Linked DNA regions of Homo sapiens: region 1 is linked to region 2. The links are contacts of gene promoters, found by promoter capture Hi-C in human tissues and cell types (Jung and others, 2019). All regions are on one chromosome and are shown on one strand. Each heading gives the region's core, a stretch centred on a gene start or on the middle of the fragment in contact. The rest is flanking DNA. Distances are from core to core; before and after follow the strand shown. Region 1 holds the start of C1QTNF6 (C1q and TNF related 6). Region 2 holds the start of MFNG (MFNG O-fucosylpeptide 3-beta-N-acetylglucosaminyltransferase).

Evidence for each region. Contacts are between HindIII fragments. The study calls those that stand out against the background at their distance.
Region 1: a fragment that was not itself captured here is called in contact with the fragment with the promoter of MFNG in region 2 in 8 of the 25 tissues and cell types used here (H1 embryonic stem cells, IMR-90 fibroblasts, dorsolateral prefrontal cortex and 5 more).

Annotation. Positions count from the first base shown.
Region 1 is chr22:37,185,962-37,193,049 of GRCh38, reverse strand. It overlaps C1QTNF6 (C1q and TNF related 6), which reads left to right and starts at 4,803. Exons shown (of 3, transcript NM_031910.4): 1 at 4,803-4,887. The coding sequence starts at 4,837. It overlaps IL2RB-AS1 (IL2RB and C1QTNF6 antisense RNA 1), which reads right to left. Exons shown (of 2, transcript NR_199008.1): 2 at 6,228-7,088. RefSeq lists enhancers at 3,160-3,793, 3,794-4,429, 4,430-5,063, 5,064-5,699. The HindIII fragment of the contact is 4,689 bases long and covers 694-5,382 here.
Region 2 is chr22:37,484,545-37,491,393 of GRCh38, reverse strand. MFNG (MFNG O-fucosylpeptide 3-beta-N-acetylglucosaminyltransferase) reads left to right here and starts at 5,010. Exons shown (of 8, transcript NM_002405.4): 1 at 5,010-5,471. The coding sequence starts at 5,217. CARD10 (caspase recruitment domain family member 10) reads left to right here. Exons shown (of 20, transcript NM_014550.4): 20 at 1-1,032. The coding sequence ends at 235. RefSeq lists enhancers at 3,608-4,117, 4,118-4,629, 4,630-5,139, 5,616-5,665, 6,066-6,125 and 2 more and a silencer at 4,916-5,045. The HindIII fragment of the contact is 15,221 bases long and covers 1-6,849 here.

The DNA.
Region 1 (7,088 bases), core at 1,789-4,288, 300 kb after region 2:
CCTCCATTGAAAGATAAGACTGCCATGGGGGATGGGCTGATTCCCTCTCTTTGGGATCCAGGATCCAATATAAAAATGAAACCCTTAATTTTGGGGTTCTGTTTTGCCTTCCAGCTGTGCCTGCTTATTAGGCCTTAGAAACTGCAGGCTTTCCTGGCCCTGTTTCTTGAAGGGCTCCACCCTGAAGTCAGTAATCCAATTAAGAAACTTAAAAATTGGCAAATGAAAAATCTTACAACTACTGGATCTTCTGTCTGTGTATTTATATATGTTGTGTGTGTGATGTTGATATATGAAAGAGCTCTGATTAATTGGCTTAAAAATAATAAGTACTTAAATCAAATATTTTGTCAGAAAAATAGAAACATTAATGCCTTTTGGTTCACATGACTTTAATAATCTTTGGGAAATAGAGACAGTTTTAAAGATTATCAGTAACATTAAAATATCTTCAAACTTTAGACATTTGGTCTAAATTAGGCAGGTCAGATTTTAGGTTTGCTAAATGCCTCAAGGTCATAAACTGCATCATTGACTTTTGAAAATTGCCCAGCTTACCTGCTTTGGGGCCATTAGATTCTAGATAAGGCCTGGGGACTTGTCGAGTTAGCCATGCCCCCAGCTATGCTGGAAAGAGTCAGACCTTATCTGCACTTCTGCAGATAAGGCTGTCCTAGGCTCCACACCTGGAATATAAGTAAAACTGCTTACTTACCAGGTTTTTCACCAAAAAATAAAAGTTGCTAAGAGTTAACATCGTAATATGTTATATGTAATTGAGACTACTAGAGAAACAGTTTTATATGCAAGGTGTGTAAGGAAAATTGAATATGCTTTTGGTAAGAAGATTATAAGAAAGCATGGGAATGTGGACTTTCCCCCTACTTTAGAGGGTTAAAGGATTGTTTCAAGTTAGGTAGGATAAAGCTGAAGGTTTGAGCAAGTTATGGAAGGTTTGTGAAAGATTAATCTTGTAAAAGAAATTCTGTGTGAACTTATTGGCTTAAATTAAAGGGATATTATTCAGTTTTTCCATAAATTAAATATGGAATAAAAGTATAACAAGGTTTTCTTAGAGCACTGGTATACTCTTTAACAAGAAAATTGTAAAGAGCTATAAAAGGTTTATGAGACTCTTACCTCATGGTCAAACATTAAAATTGGATAGAGTTGTCTATAAGGCTTTATTATGAATTGGGTTTGACATTAATAGTACACAAATGCAAAGGTAAAATTTGGCTTTCTCTCTTGAACAAGTTTTTCATGTAATATTGAAAAATAATTAAAGATTTTTGTTTGCCTTTTGAATAAGCTATAGAAAAAAGAAAGGAACGAAAAGAGACAGTTTTTTTTGGAAAGCTAAGTCTTCCCTTTATCGGTGAGTAAAGGTTTTTGCCCTTAAAAACATCTTTGAGTTATCATTTTGGCCAAATAAATGACTTATGGTGACCTGGGATGCTATTTTGTAGTATCAAATGTTTTAAATTTTTGATATTTGACAAACTTTCCAAAATCAAATTCTAAGTTATGCCTTTTTCTAACCTGATTAGTCCTTTAGATATTAGGTCCCCTAAAGTCCAAAAATGACATATTTGGCTTATTTGGTACATTAAAATAATACAGGAAGCATTGTCAAATATGAAATTGTGTTTGGCTTTCTTTGGGCTGTGTTTATATAAATATGTTATTGGTATGTGTTCCAAAATTATGGGAAACTCCTATAATTCTGATATGAACATTATCAATACTAATGGACATTATCAATAATAATTATAATTGTTATGATGTTAATTTATTATATGCCACAGAGGTATCCACATTTCCTAGTCAATGATATTAATTCTTTAACCATGACTGCTCTAAGTCTTTCTGTCATCCATAGACAATTGTTGTCTTGCTTTTATTCTCTTCAAAAGGTGGTTTATAATCAGCTATAGGACTCTGATGAGTACTCTTAAATGCAGAGAAAAAGAAAACATCATCCAAGACTCTTGGAAAACTAACACATATATATCAAGCAAAACAGGAATTAATTGCATAGACTGAACTAATAAAAGACTGAAATAATCTTTTATGACTTTTTGCTTAAAATGTTGTTGATCTTTCTGTTTTGTTTTTCAGAGTCAAGAAACCCCCCCTTCTTGAGCTATTTACAGCTTTTAACAATTGAGTAAAGTACGCTCCGGTAAGGATTATAAAACAAAGTTTTGTCCAAAAACAAAATTTGGAATATGTTTTTTTCTCTTTACCTGATTTCTGCAGAATTTGGAAACTATTTGTGAGTGTTCTTAACTTACGGCAATATAGTTATTTGCATAAGTGCAGTAAGAATCTGTTTTTCCTTCTTTCTTCTTTTTTTTTTTTTGTAACAGGACACAATTGGAGAAACTGGTTATTTAACAAGGGTTTGACTCGAGTGGCATGCTTTCAAATATAAACAGACTTCTTTAAGGAATTAAAGTTGACTAATAGAGCCAATAAAAGCCTCTTGGAAAAACTGGTCTTGTACCTTGTGTATGAAGTCCCTGTATAGGGTTCCTGACCTGTGGTAAGTAAAGAATGTAACTTTCTGACAGGCCTGGGAGCCCCGAGTTATCTCGGGACCTCAAGAGGAGAGGAATTTATCTAACTCATACAGGTTCTTGCAGGCATAGGTAAATCCATGGCTGGGCTCAAAGCTTTAAAACATCTAATCTAAGATACCTTATGAAACAAAGCCAATTTTAAAAGGAGCCTGTATGGCAAATAATTATACTTGCTGCACTTTATGCAAATAATGAAGCCAAGTATAATAAGACTAAAGCTTATTTTGCAAATAAATTGGTCCTACCATGATTTGTTTTTAATAAAAAATGGGAGACTGGAGAGAGAAAAACGGTGTTTCAAAAAATATGGTACACCTGTCATAGATTCTAGTCTCATCCATTGTTTTTGAGTTTTTTGTCTGCAATTTAGACTGACCTTGCTTCTTTCTGTGAACCAAACAGTCATCTCTTGACTGCTTCTCGTCAGAAACAAGAGGGATGGATAACATAAAAATCTGGATCAGTATCTAATTCTGAGCATGTATTGGAATCGTCTAGCAACTCCGTATCAGCTCATCTAGCAATTCCTGTGACTAAGAATGCCTAACCTCCTGGGAATGCAGCCCAGTAGGTCTCAGCCTCATTTTACCCGATAAGTCACAGGCATTCTTGCCCAGTTCATGGAAAGCCTTCTTATTTGGATTACTTGGGATAATTTTACTTATTTTACTTTGCTGTTGTAGAATATATTGCTGCTATACTCTTTGTGTAAGAATGCAAGATAAGCTTACTCAGTGCTTCCTTAAATTGAACACATTAATCTTCCAGATATCACCTTTTGTTAGGACTCAGAGTTACAAATGACTCTGAACACACCAACATTTTCTTACTCAGTTCCTCTCTGCACCAAACCCAAGAGACTCTAATAGTTAGGCAGGAATATCATCGCCTCTATTCAGCCTGAAGAAGTTACAGAAGATGGATCTTCATGCCTCTACAACCCTTAAGATTAAACGTTCCCTCGTAAAAGAGAGTAGGGAAATATGTCAGAGGTGTTCAAAATAGGGCAACTCCATCTTGAATAGGGGCTGGGTAAAATGAGGCTAAGACCTGCCAGGCTGCATTCCCAGGAGGTCAGGCATTTGTAGTCACAGGAAGGGATAGGAAGTTGGCAGGACTGGTATCACAAGATACAGGTCATCAAGACCCTGCTGAGAAACAGTATGCGGTAAACAAACCAGCCAAAACCTGCCAAATCTAAGATTGCAATGAAAGTGACATCTGGTCATCCTTATTGCTCATTGTATGTTAATTAAAATGTGTTAGCTTGCTAAAACACACTTCTACCAGCACCAAGACAGCCTACAAATACCATGGCAATGTCCGGAAATTACCCTATATTGTCTAAAAGGGGGAGGAAGCCTCAGTTTCAGGAAATTCCCACCCCTTTCCTGGAAAACTCATGAATAATCCACCCCTGTTTAGCATAGGATCAAGAAATAACTATAAAAATAGCCAACTAGCAGTGCTTGGGGGTGCTCTGCCTATGGAGTAGCCATTCTTTTGTTTCTTTGCTTCTCTAATAAACTTGCTTTCACTTTGCTCTGTGGACTTACCCCAAATTCTTTCTGGTGCAAGATCCAAGAATTCTCTCTTGGGGTCTGATCAGTACCCCTCTCTGGTAACACTTGCATGATACCTGAGGAGGTCAGCCTGGTCATTCACCCAACAAACATGGGTTAAGCCCTCCCATGTGCCTGGCACAAAGGGGGCTGAGGACTGCAGTTCTGGAACACCTAGGCTCTGAGAGGCGACGCGACTGTGGTAGCAGGGCCAGGATTCTAGCCTGTGCCTGGAGGGCCAACACCTGCACCTTCTCTGCTACCCACCCTGCCTCTGTGACTCAGAGCAGTTAAGCACTTTAGCTCAGGGTGGACTCAGGGCTGCCTCCCCCTTCCTGAGCAACCTAGGGGCTCCTGTGCCCCATGCCTGTGTCCATTTCCCAATCATCAGGGGGCCTCAGACTCCTGCCTGCTCTGACTTTCTAGGCCTTTGAATCAAGCAAGACCCCACTGGATCACCAAAGAGTTAAGCAAAGGAAATCCCTGCCTCCCTTTATCTCCGCAGAACCCAGAGGCTGAAAGGGAGGGAGCAGGGAGGAGGGGAAGTGGGAAGCGGCTCTGCCCTCTCCCTCCGCCCTCCCTCCGCCCTCTCTCCCTCCATCCCCTCCTCTCTCCCTCCTCTGCTGGGCCTGGGGGTCTGGGCCAGCAACAAGTTAGTATTGCAGACATGGGCCAAGGAGCCAGAGGCCATGCAGTGGCTCAGGGTCCGTGAGTCGCCTGGGGAGGCCACAGGACACAGGGTGAGTGACCAGAGGCTCCTCAAGCTTGGGGGCTGGGGTCAGAGCCTGGAATTCCTCTCCTCCCTCCTTGCTTCCTGGAAGCATCTCGGGCCCTGCTCTCTCCCTCTGACTGGGACAGCCTCTCCAGGCTCTCCCCTCCACATTTCCTCCTGCCTCTGGCTGAGGGCTGCGCTCCACTGCTCCCGGTTTGTGCCCGCCCCTACCCGGGCACACACAAACTCAGCTCTGCACGGCCTGCCTGGACCGAGAAAAGTTGCCCTGCCGCTCCCTCCCCAAAGAGGTCCCAGTGGAAGCAGCAAGGACCCCAAAAGTCCTCCCTATGACTTGGTTCCCACACTTGGTCCCTGCCTGGCACCCACCCCCAGAGCTAGTTCGTGATCCTGGCTGTGGTTATGATTCCTCGTTAACGGCTTCCTGATTCCTGCTCCCAGGCCACGGTTCTGTGTCTCACAGCCTTTGACTCCCATCCGCTGGGGCCAATAGGAAACAGAAATGCTCCCAAACCATGCCAGTCCTCTGGGAGAAGTTCTCCTTCCCATCCCATGCAGGCACAGGGAAGAAGTCAAAGCACACTTTTTTTTTTTTTTTTAAGTCTTTTATAAGGCAGGCACTTTTCCTGCATTGAAATCCTTCCAAATTACCTGGGAGGGAAAGGGTGGTGTCATTTCCTTGTAAGTATCAAGGAGCAGGAAGCCCAGAGAGGTTCAGCCACTAGCCCTAGGTCACACAGCTTGCAAACTATTCTGGGTCTCAGATTTGACTCTAAGACCTCAGCTTTTCTCATGAGGTCATATCTGTGGCTGGGAAAAAGAAGGGAATTTTGGGATTTCCAAAACCACTGGGATTTGTCATTTATAAGTAAAAGTTGAGGATGACAGTCTCAGACAGGGAGGATGTTGATCTCTGAGGATTTGACCTCCTTATTGAGCAGAACCAGGAACCCAACCAGGGTGGGCAGAGAGAAGCTTGGGAAGAGTCACCTCCAGGAAGAGGGAGGTGGCTCTGGAGACTTCCTGTCCAGCCCCCTTCTCCTGCTGCTACCATCCAGCTCTGGGGGTGGGGGGCAGGGCTCCTGCCGCTTTATTTATTTTTAGTTTTAATTTTTGAAAAATAGAGACAGGGTCTCACTATGTTGCCCAGACTGGTCTCGAACTCCGGGACTCGAGTGATCCTCTCTCCGTGGCCTCCCAAAGTGCTGGGATTGCAGGAGTAAGTCACTGCACCTGGCCATCCTGCCCCTTTAAAACTCTGCCCTCACCTCAGTGCTCAGCTGAGACAGGGTGGCATTTTAAAAAGTAATAATTGTACCTTGTCTACATGTATTAACCACAAAAAAAATATTTTTGAATTCTACTAAATGTTAAAGGAGAACAAAAAGGAAATAAACAAAGAAACGCCAGAAGTGTAAAAACCAGTCTGGTTTCAAAAGCAGAGTTTCTGATCCTGTGATAACTCGGCACCAGCCCCCAGAAGCTGCACCACCTCAAAGGTCTTTTTGCCCGGCTTCCTGCCCACCCAACCCAGGACTGTCTCTAGCGCCTGGTGTCCAGGCTACTTCCTGCCTCTCTCCTGGAGCCCTAGACCCCTTCTTGGCCAAGGCCAGAGACAGATCCTCACCAACACTTACACTTTTCTGATCCTTTAGAATTTTTTATACCTCCTAGTCCTACCCCTTAATTCCAATTTACCACCTTGGCATCTGATTGGCAGGTCTACGATGATTGACACAACCATCTTCCAATGAACTAACTCTCTCTACAGAACCCTCCCTGCAGGGCTTCTGGATAAGGTTGGGTTGCATAGATAGTTGACTGCACAAAGGTGCTGAGCAGGGAGGTGGACTAGCGCCAGCCCTTGCCAAGCTGCACACCCTCAGCATCACGTCCCTCCAACGGGGACTCTTATCATTTCTAATTTGTCCAGAGGGGCACCTTCTTTGCTTTGCACAAAGGCACTCTAAAGACTAGCAATGGGCTGCAGTCAAGGACCCAGTATTCCTTCTCCTGACTGCTCAGCGATGCAATGACACCATCACCGCGCACCACCCCACATGCTCTCATGGACGTTGCTTTCTGTCTGCTAGGATCAATGAACTCTCTTATCTCTTTTTTTTCAGAACTATGGTGTTCTCACACCAAAGCATGGGCTCGGCCACCCATCCCCTCTCCTGAGAACAAGCCTCCAGAACCCTCCACGTTTGT
Region 2 (6,849 bases), core at 3,761-6,260:
GGGTCTGCTGGGCCGGCCGGGCTGGCGGGACTCAGAGCTGCTGCGGCAGTGCCGTGGCTCAGAGCAGGTGCTCTGGGGGCTGCCCTGCTCCTGGGTGCAGGTGCCCGCCCATGAGTGGGGACACGCAGAGGAGCTGGCCAAGGTGGTGCGCGGCCGCATCCTGCAGGAGCAGGCCCGCCTCGTGTGGGTGGAGTGCGGCAGCAGCAGAGGCTGCCCCAGCAGCAGTGAGGCCTGAGGCTCATCTGATACCTGCACCTTCTCCCCAAGCCAGCGTGGACCCTGGTGTCTATGGTGAAGCTGGGCCCTCCCACCCTGAGCCTTCCTAGACCCTTGGACTCTCAGATGCAGGGCCCTTGGCTCTGGCCTCTCACCCCCAAGGCTGTCTCTGGCCCTGCCGAGCCTATGGGAGTCCCGGGACAGAGTGCCCACTCCCCTCTACTTGCTGCTCTGGGCCTCCCCACCTTTCCTGGGGTCTCCACATTCCCACTAGTGGGTCTTATGTGTGTCTGTGTCTTCTCCTTAAACACTCGCCCTGGAGTCTGTTCTCACACCTGTGCGCAGGTTTGCACACTCAAGTTCTCATGGGCAGGCTCAGGTCTGTCCCGCTGCCCTGGGCACGAGGTCTCCTGAGGACCTGGGCCTGTTCTGCTCCTAGGAGACCTGAGCCCGTTACCGCGTGACTCCCACCATCCAGCTCGCGCTCCTCGTGGATTCAGCCATGCATGGACTGGGGTGTTCCCTGGCCCATGGTCACCTGTGCCCCTCGTGTCTCCTCACATGGGTGTCTGTGGTTCTCTCCTGTGTAAATGTCACGCCCCACCCCTGTTTCATGTGGGCACTAACACGTGTGCGTTCCTGGCGGGCACACTCAGGACCGTGCCTCACAGGGCCCACTCCCTGCCTATGCCTCCCTCTTGGGGGGCCGAGGAGGGCGGCTGCTCTGTCATGAGAATGTACGGCCCGTGGATGATTAACGGGCCTTTTTCACTTAGAAGCTGCACATTATGGAGCATTAAACACTTTTGTCATAGATGCTGGTGGCCTTCTGCTTGCTTGTATCCCTGGCCTGGGTCCCCATCACTCTCCTCATTTGTCTCCCAGCTCAGGCGGATACCACCTTTCAGGTCCCCGCTTGCCTGTCAGGAGGGTCGGATTTCCCGCCTGCCTCTTCCCAGAGCCGCCCGCCATCTGTGCTGGCGTCACCTTACCTGCCCCTGAATGACCAGAGGAGGGCCCCACAGATGGGCCACCCCAACGCTCAGCCCTGCCCACAGCTGATCATCAGAGGAGTGTCCCCTGGAGCAGGGCACCAAAACTGGCAGGGTGTGGCCTCCGACTGAAGGGGCCTGGCTGCTGAGCCCAGGAGCTCAAGAGCAAACCCTTGGTATGCACGCAGGTTCCTGAGACAGCTCTACTGGAGAGAGGATGGTTGCTCCCACTGGGAGCAATCCAGGCAGCCTTACTGGAAGAAGTGCCACTTGAGCTTGGGAGTTGGGATTCCTTTCTTCAGGAACCACTTATTGGACCTACGTGTCCAAGTGCAGGTGACTGTCCTCAGCCACAGTGATGAGGCTGGGCAGGTCCCTGGGGCTTGGGGTTGTGGGTGTACTAACTAGGTAGGGTAGCCTCAAGGGCGAAAGCTCAGAGGCAGCACATGGGTTGGATCTGGCCACCTTGGATGGGGTCGGAAATGAGGTTGGGAAGGGCAAGTCCAGGGGTGGGGTTGGGAGCGCAAAGGAGCTTGGGCTGTGCCCTGGAGGCTGTGGGAGCCTCTCAGGATGTGGGAGCAGGGCTATGGGAGCTCTGGTTTGGAGTTGACTTAGAGAGGGCTGAGGCCAATTGGAGTAGGGGGTGGGGGGCAGGGGCAGTGGAGGAGAGAGGAGCAGACAGGAAGGAGGGGATCTGTGGCCTCCAGGGGTGGGTCTGGATCTCCATGTTTGACAAGAAAAATGCTTAAGAAGGGGTCAGGGCTGGGGATTTGGGGTGGTGGGTGGAGAAGGGAATGGAGAAGCTGGGAGAGGGGATTGGGGTGTGGATCAGGGGGCCACAGCCCCATCTTTAGTGGGAAGAGACAAGGAGTGGGTGTAGGGGAGAGGTGGTGAGGGTCTCAGAGACTGGACCACGCAGGATGACGGTGCTTGGGTATGAGGCCAGGGTGGACGGTGGGCCCAGGCTGTCCCGGGAACCCAGAGAGGCTTTCCCAGGATGGAGTGCAGGGTGCGCAGGGCACTGTAGTTTGGTTGAAACCCAAAGCTCTGGTCAGCCAGGAGACCCTGGCAACTCGGGTGGCCTCTCTGGGCCCAGGGCCCTCCCCTGTGGAGTGGAGGCCCGGATGGTGGAGTGAGCATGGAGGTACGGATTGGCCACGGCTAGGTGAGCACGTGTGGCTGGGGCTGAGCCATTGCTTGGGAAAAGGTCTTCCCACTCTCTACGACAGGGTGTCTTTGACAAGGTGCAGATTGGACTTGGAGGCCTGCCAGTCTGTCACCACTGGGGTAGGGGCTGGGGAGCTGGACCCTGAGTGGCAAAGGCGGTGCCCTGGGGGAAGGGCAGCCTCCCTGCATGGGAATCAGCGGCAATGCCGCTTTCTACTCCAGGCCTTCCCAGGTGTTGACTCTCCCATCCCCCCAGCCACATCCTCCCCACCGCGGGCAGTGGCAGTGGCCTTTCAGTTTACCCTTAGCTGTGCTCCTCTGCTCATGTGGCCCCTGCCTGGGCTGCTCTCCCTGCCTGAATCTTCCTGATCTTTGAAGCCTGGCTGAGATATTACGTATCTCCATGAAACCCACCACCAGGTCCTCCCAGCCCTTGGGACTTCTCCTGGCCCATGCCATATTCTGCCTTGTGGTGGGACGAGGGTGTCTGTGTGGCTGTCTCTCGATGTCTGTGGCTTCCTGGGCATGGAAACTGGGCTGTGTGCATTTGGGTACATGAACCTCCCCCTGCCCCACAGTGAGCCTGGCCCAGTGCTTGGCCTGGGGAAAGGCAGGGGCCTGTGACTTGGCTGCCTTTGCCTGTTCCCCGTGTCAAGCATCCTTTCTGTGGGGTGGAGAAGCCCACTCATCCTGTAATCGTCACCAAGTCATATTTTTGTCCCCATTTTAGAAATGATGAAGGTAACTTTCCTAGAGTCATACAGCCAGTGAGTGGCCCAGTTGGGAATTTTTTTTTTTGAGATGGAGTTTCACTCTTGTTGCCTAGGCTGGAGTGCAATGGCGCCATCTCGGCTCACTGCAACCTCTGCCTCCCGGGTTCAAGTGATTCTCCTGCCTCAGCCTCCCTAGTAGCTGGGATTACAGGTGCCTGCCACAATGCCTAGCTAATTTTTGTATTTTTGGTAGAGACGGGGTTTCACCATGTTGGCCAGGCTGGTCTTGAACTCCTGACCTCAAGTGATCTGCCTGCCTTGGCCTCCCAAAGTGCTGGGAGTACAGGCGTGAGCCATGGCGCCCAGCCCCCAGTCAGGATTTAAACCTGGTCTGTGGGGTACAGAGTCTGGGATCATCACCAAGGCTGGCATCATCACCATTCTGAGAATATGGCCTGTGAAGGGGCCTGGCTGGGGGCTGGCCCATGAGAAGGTCATTCAAAGGGTTGGTTTTCCCTTCCTCTCCCCCAGCTGTCCTCATGCAGGGTTGAGCCCGGCAGGGCCACTTCCCTTTGCCAGCCACCTGGTACTTTGTTGTGTTGAATTAACATTGATTGAGTTCTTGTCTGCCGGTCACTGTTCTAGGCACTGGGGATTAGGGACTCAGTGATCAAAAAATAAATCCTGCCCTGATATTCTCATGAGGAGGACAGAAACTTAGTTAAACATACAGAATGTTGGAAGATGAAAAGTGTGATGAAGAAAACAGTGAAGTGGCTTGAGAGGGACAGGCCTGGGGGGCTGGGAAGGAGGCGGCGAGGGGTTGCAATGTTAATAACGTGGTCAGGGAAGGCCTCACAGAGACGGTGACCTTTGTGTAAAGACCAGAAGGGAGTGGGGGAGTGAGACGTGCAGGTCTCTAGGGAGGGGCCCAGGTGGGAACAGCAAGTGCCAAGGTCCTGTGGCGGCCAGGTGCCTGGGCCAGCGAGGGTCCCAGGTTCTGGAGTGGAGCAGGGTGAGTAGCAGGAGATGGGGTGGGAGTAACTTGGGAGCCAGCTCACGCAGGGCCTTGTGGGCTGCTGTGTGCGTTTTGGCTTTTGTTCTGAAGAAAATGGGAGCCAGTGCAGGCTCTGAGTGGAGGAGGGAGGAGGTGTGAGTGAGCTTGTGCGAAACAAGATGGAGGTGGTGGCTGGAGAAGGCCCTCTGTCTGTCCACTGGTCAGGTGCTGGGAGAGAGGCAGCTCCAGAGACTGCGGAGTGAGGTCGGGTATGGGCTGGGGCACAGCTGGACAGGTGCCCTCAGGGGACCTCCTGTGAACTAGATGAGGAACAGAGACCTGGGTTCTGCCAGCTCTGCGGCTGAGTTGCTGGATCGTTTTTGCTCATTCTGTGCCTTTGTGCCTTATGTCTTCAGCTATAAACTGGGAACGACAGTCCCAGTGCTGTTGTGAAGACCTCAGGAACTGAGCGAACAACTGTGGGAGCCCCAGAGGTTAAGAGGTTATCACGGAAGGCTTCCTGGAGGAGGGAACCCTTAAGCTTTGAAGTCCAGATAGAACTCAGCCTAGTGGAGGGAATGTGGGTGAGGCTGGTGGAATATGGGAGAGCATCCCGGAGGAAACCTGTGAGCAAAAGCTGGGGGCTGGGTGAAGCAGGACACCAAAGTAATGGGTGTTGAATGGGCCGAGCTGACAGCTCTCTGGGGGAGTGGACGGTGCTGGAGGACACTCCCTTCCACCGGGCACGGAGGGTTTGTTGTGACTTCCTCCCACCGCAGCAGCTGGCAGAGCCGGGGCTGCCCTTTCTGCTGGTGCCTCCTTTCAGCCGCCTCTGTCTGGGGTTCCCTTCGTCTGGCCCCGCCCCTCGGGCTAAGCGGGGCGGGGCCAGGCGGTCCCGGAGGCTGCGGCAGGCCGGACAGCGGGAGCAGGTGGAGGACTGGCGGCGGTCGAGATCGTGCTGCCATGGCTCAGCCTCTGGGTCCAGAGCCTCAGCTCCTACCTCTTCCCTCCTTGCCAGCCCCTGATGCCTGCCAGACTTTTGCCTCTGCTGGAGCCCCTGCCTGACCAGCTTCCCCTCCCTGTCTGGTTGGGATTTGGGGGCTGAGCTGTCTGGGGTCCCAGGGCCAACCAATGCAGTGCCGGCTCCCGCGGGGCCTGGCTGGAGCCCTCCTCACCCTCCTGTGCATGGGGCTCCTGTGTCTGCGGTACCACTTGAACCTGTCCCCGCAGCGGGTACAAGGGACCCCCGAGCTGAGCCAGCCGAACCCGGGGCCCCCTAAGCTACAGCTACACGATGTCTTCATTGCAGTGAAGACGACCCGGGCTTTCCACCGCTTGCGCCTGGAGCTGCTGCTTGACACGTGGGTTTCCAGGACCAGGGAACAGGTGACAAGTGGGTGACATTGGGCCCTGGGGGTGGCCCCTGGCCTAAGGGGTTCTCAGAGGCCTTTCTACTGGGCTGGGGTCCCTGACTGCCTCATGGGAGAAGCTGCTCAATACCTGCCTAATCAGGGATCCTCTTCCTCTCTCCTTCTTCCGGGCTTTAGGGGCTGCCTGCGGCCCTGCCCGTGCCCTGTACTGGTCCTGACTCCAGGTGCACCCAGGTCCTACCGCTCCACCACTTTTGGGGGCCAGGCTGGGCCCCTGCTCCAGGCTCCCGGGTCCCTCCTGGGGGTTCTTCTATTCCTAGCCGCTCCCGTGGGGGCTTCGCTCCTAGCCACCCAGGCCCAGCCTGGCATCAGGGGTAATGGTGGGTGTTGGGCAGCTGGGGTGGAGGCCTCCAAGAGGTCCTGACCCAGACCCGTGCCCAGGCCAGGCTGTCCCACCCAGGCCCTAGGTGCTGTCCTGCCCGGGCTCTGAGGGTGGAGGACGGGAGGAGAATGGTGGGGTCTGTTCTTGGGGGAGGCATCCCTTCGGCCTTCCCGATAGCCCCTGCCGCTGTGTCTCTGCTGCCCCGGGTGTGCCGAGGCCGCCATGTCTGGCCTCCTGTGTTGGCTTCCTGCGGACTGCTTCCGAGGGAGGGAAGGAGAGCGCATGCCACGAGGGTGGCGGCTGAGGCAGTGGTGGGCCGGAGGTTGGGGAGGCCTGCCTGGCACGTGGGATTGTGTGTGTGTGTGTGTGTGTGCTCACACGCACGGAGCTGGAGTGTGCTAGATGTGTGTGACAAGAGGCATGTCTGTCACATGGCTGTGCGGCTCCGGCGAGCCAAGTCCCTTCCAGCCCTTTCCCTCCTCGCATCCAGTATCTTCCTTAAGCAAAGTTAGTGATGTCGGTGTTAGGGACCGTTGATGGGGGAGGTGGAGAATGGGTACACACACACACACACACACACACACATCGGTCCCCTCTTTGGCGGCTGGCTCAGTGGGAGGAAGTGACTGAGTCTTTGGAGATAGTCGAGACCTCCTGGAAGACCAAAAGGAGGGGGAGAGGATGGCTGGCAGAGGCCAGGCCCTCCTGGGGAGGGGCACCCTGCCCTGATTTCTGCCCTCGTACTTGGGATTAACTCTTCCCCAGCTGGCCCCCAGCACCTCAGCTCTTCTCTGGGCCCCACACGGCTTCTCATCTTGGGGAGATCCTGGTTCTTCCTGCGGAAGCAGCCAAGGCGGGCCCTCCCGCAGGCCTTCCTGTTTATGCGTCTGTGTACCCGGGAGCGTGGCCTCACGTGGCCCACGGCCCTTTCCTGTCTTATCTCCATCACCGCGGTGGTGCCCTTGCCCCGGATGAGGAAACTGAGGCCAGAGAGAGGAAGTGCTGGCTGGCG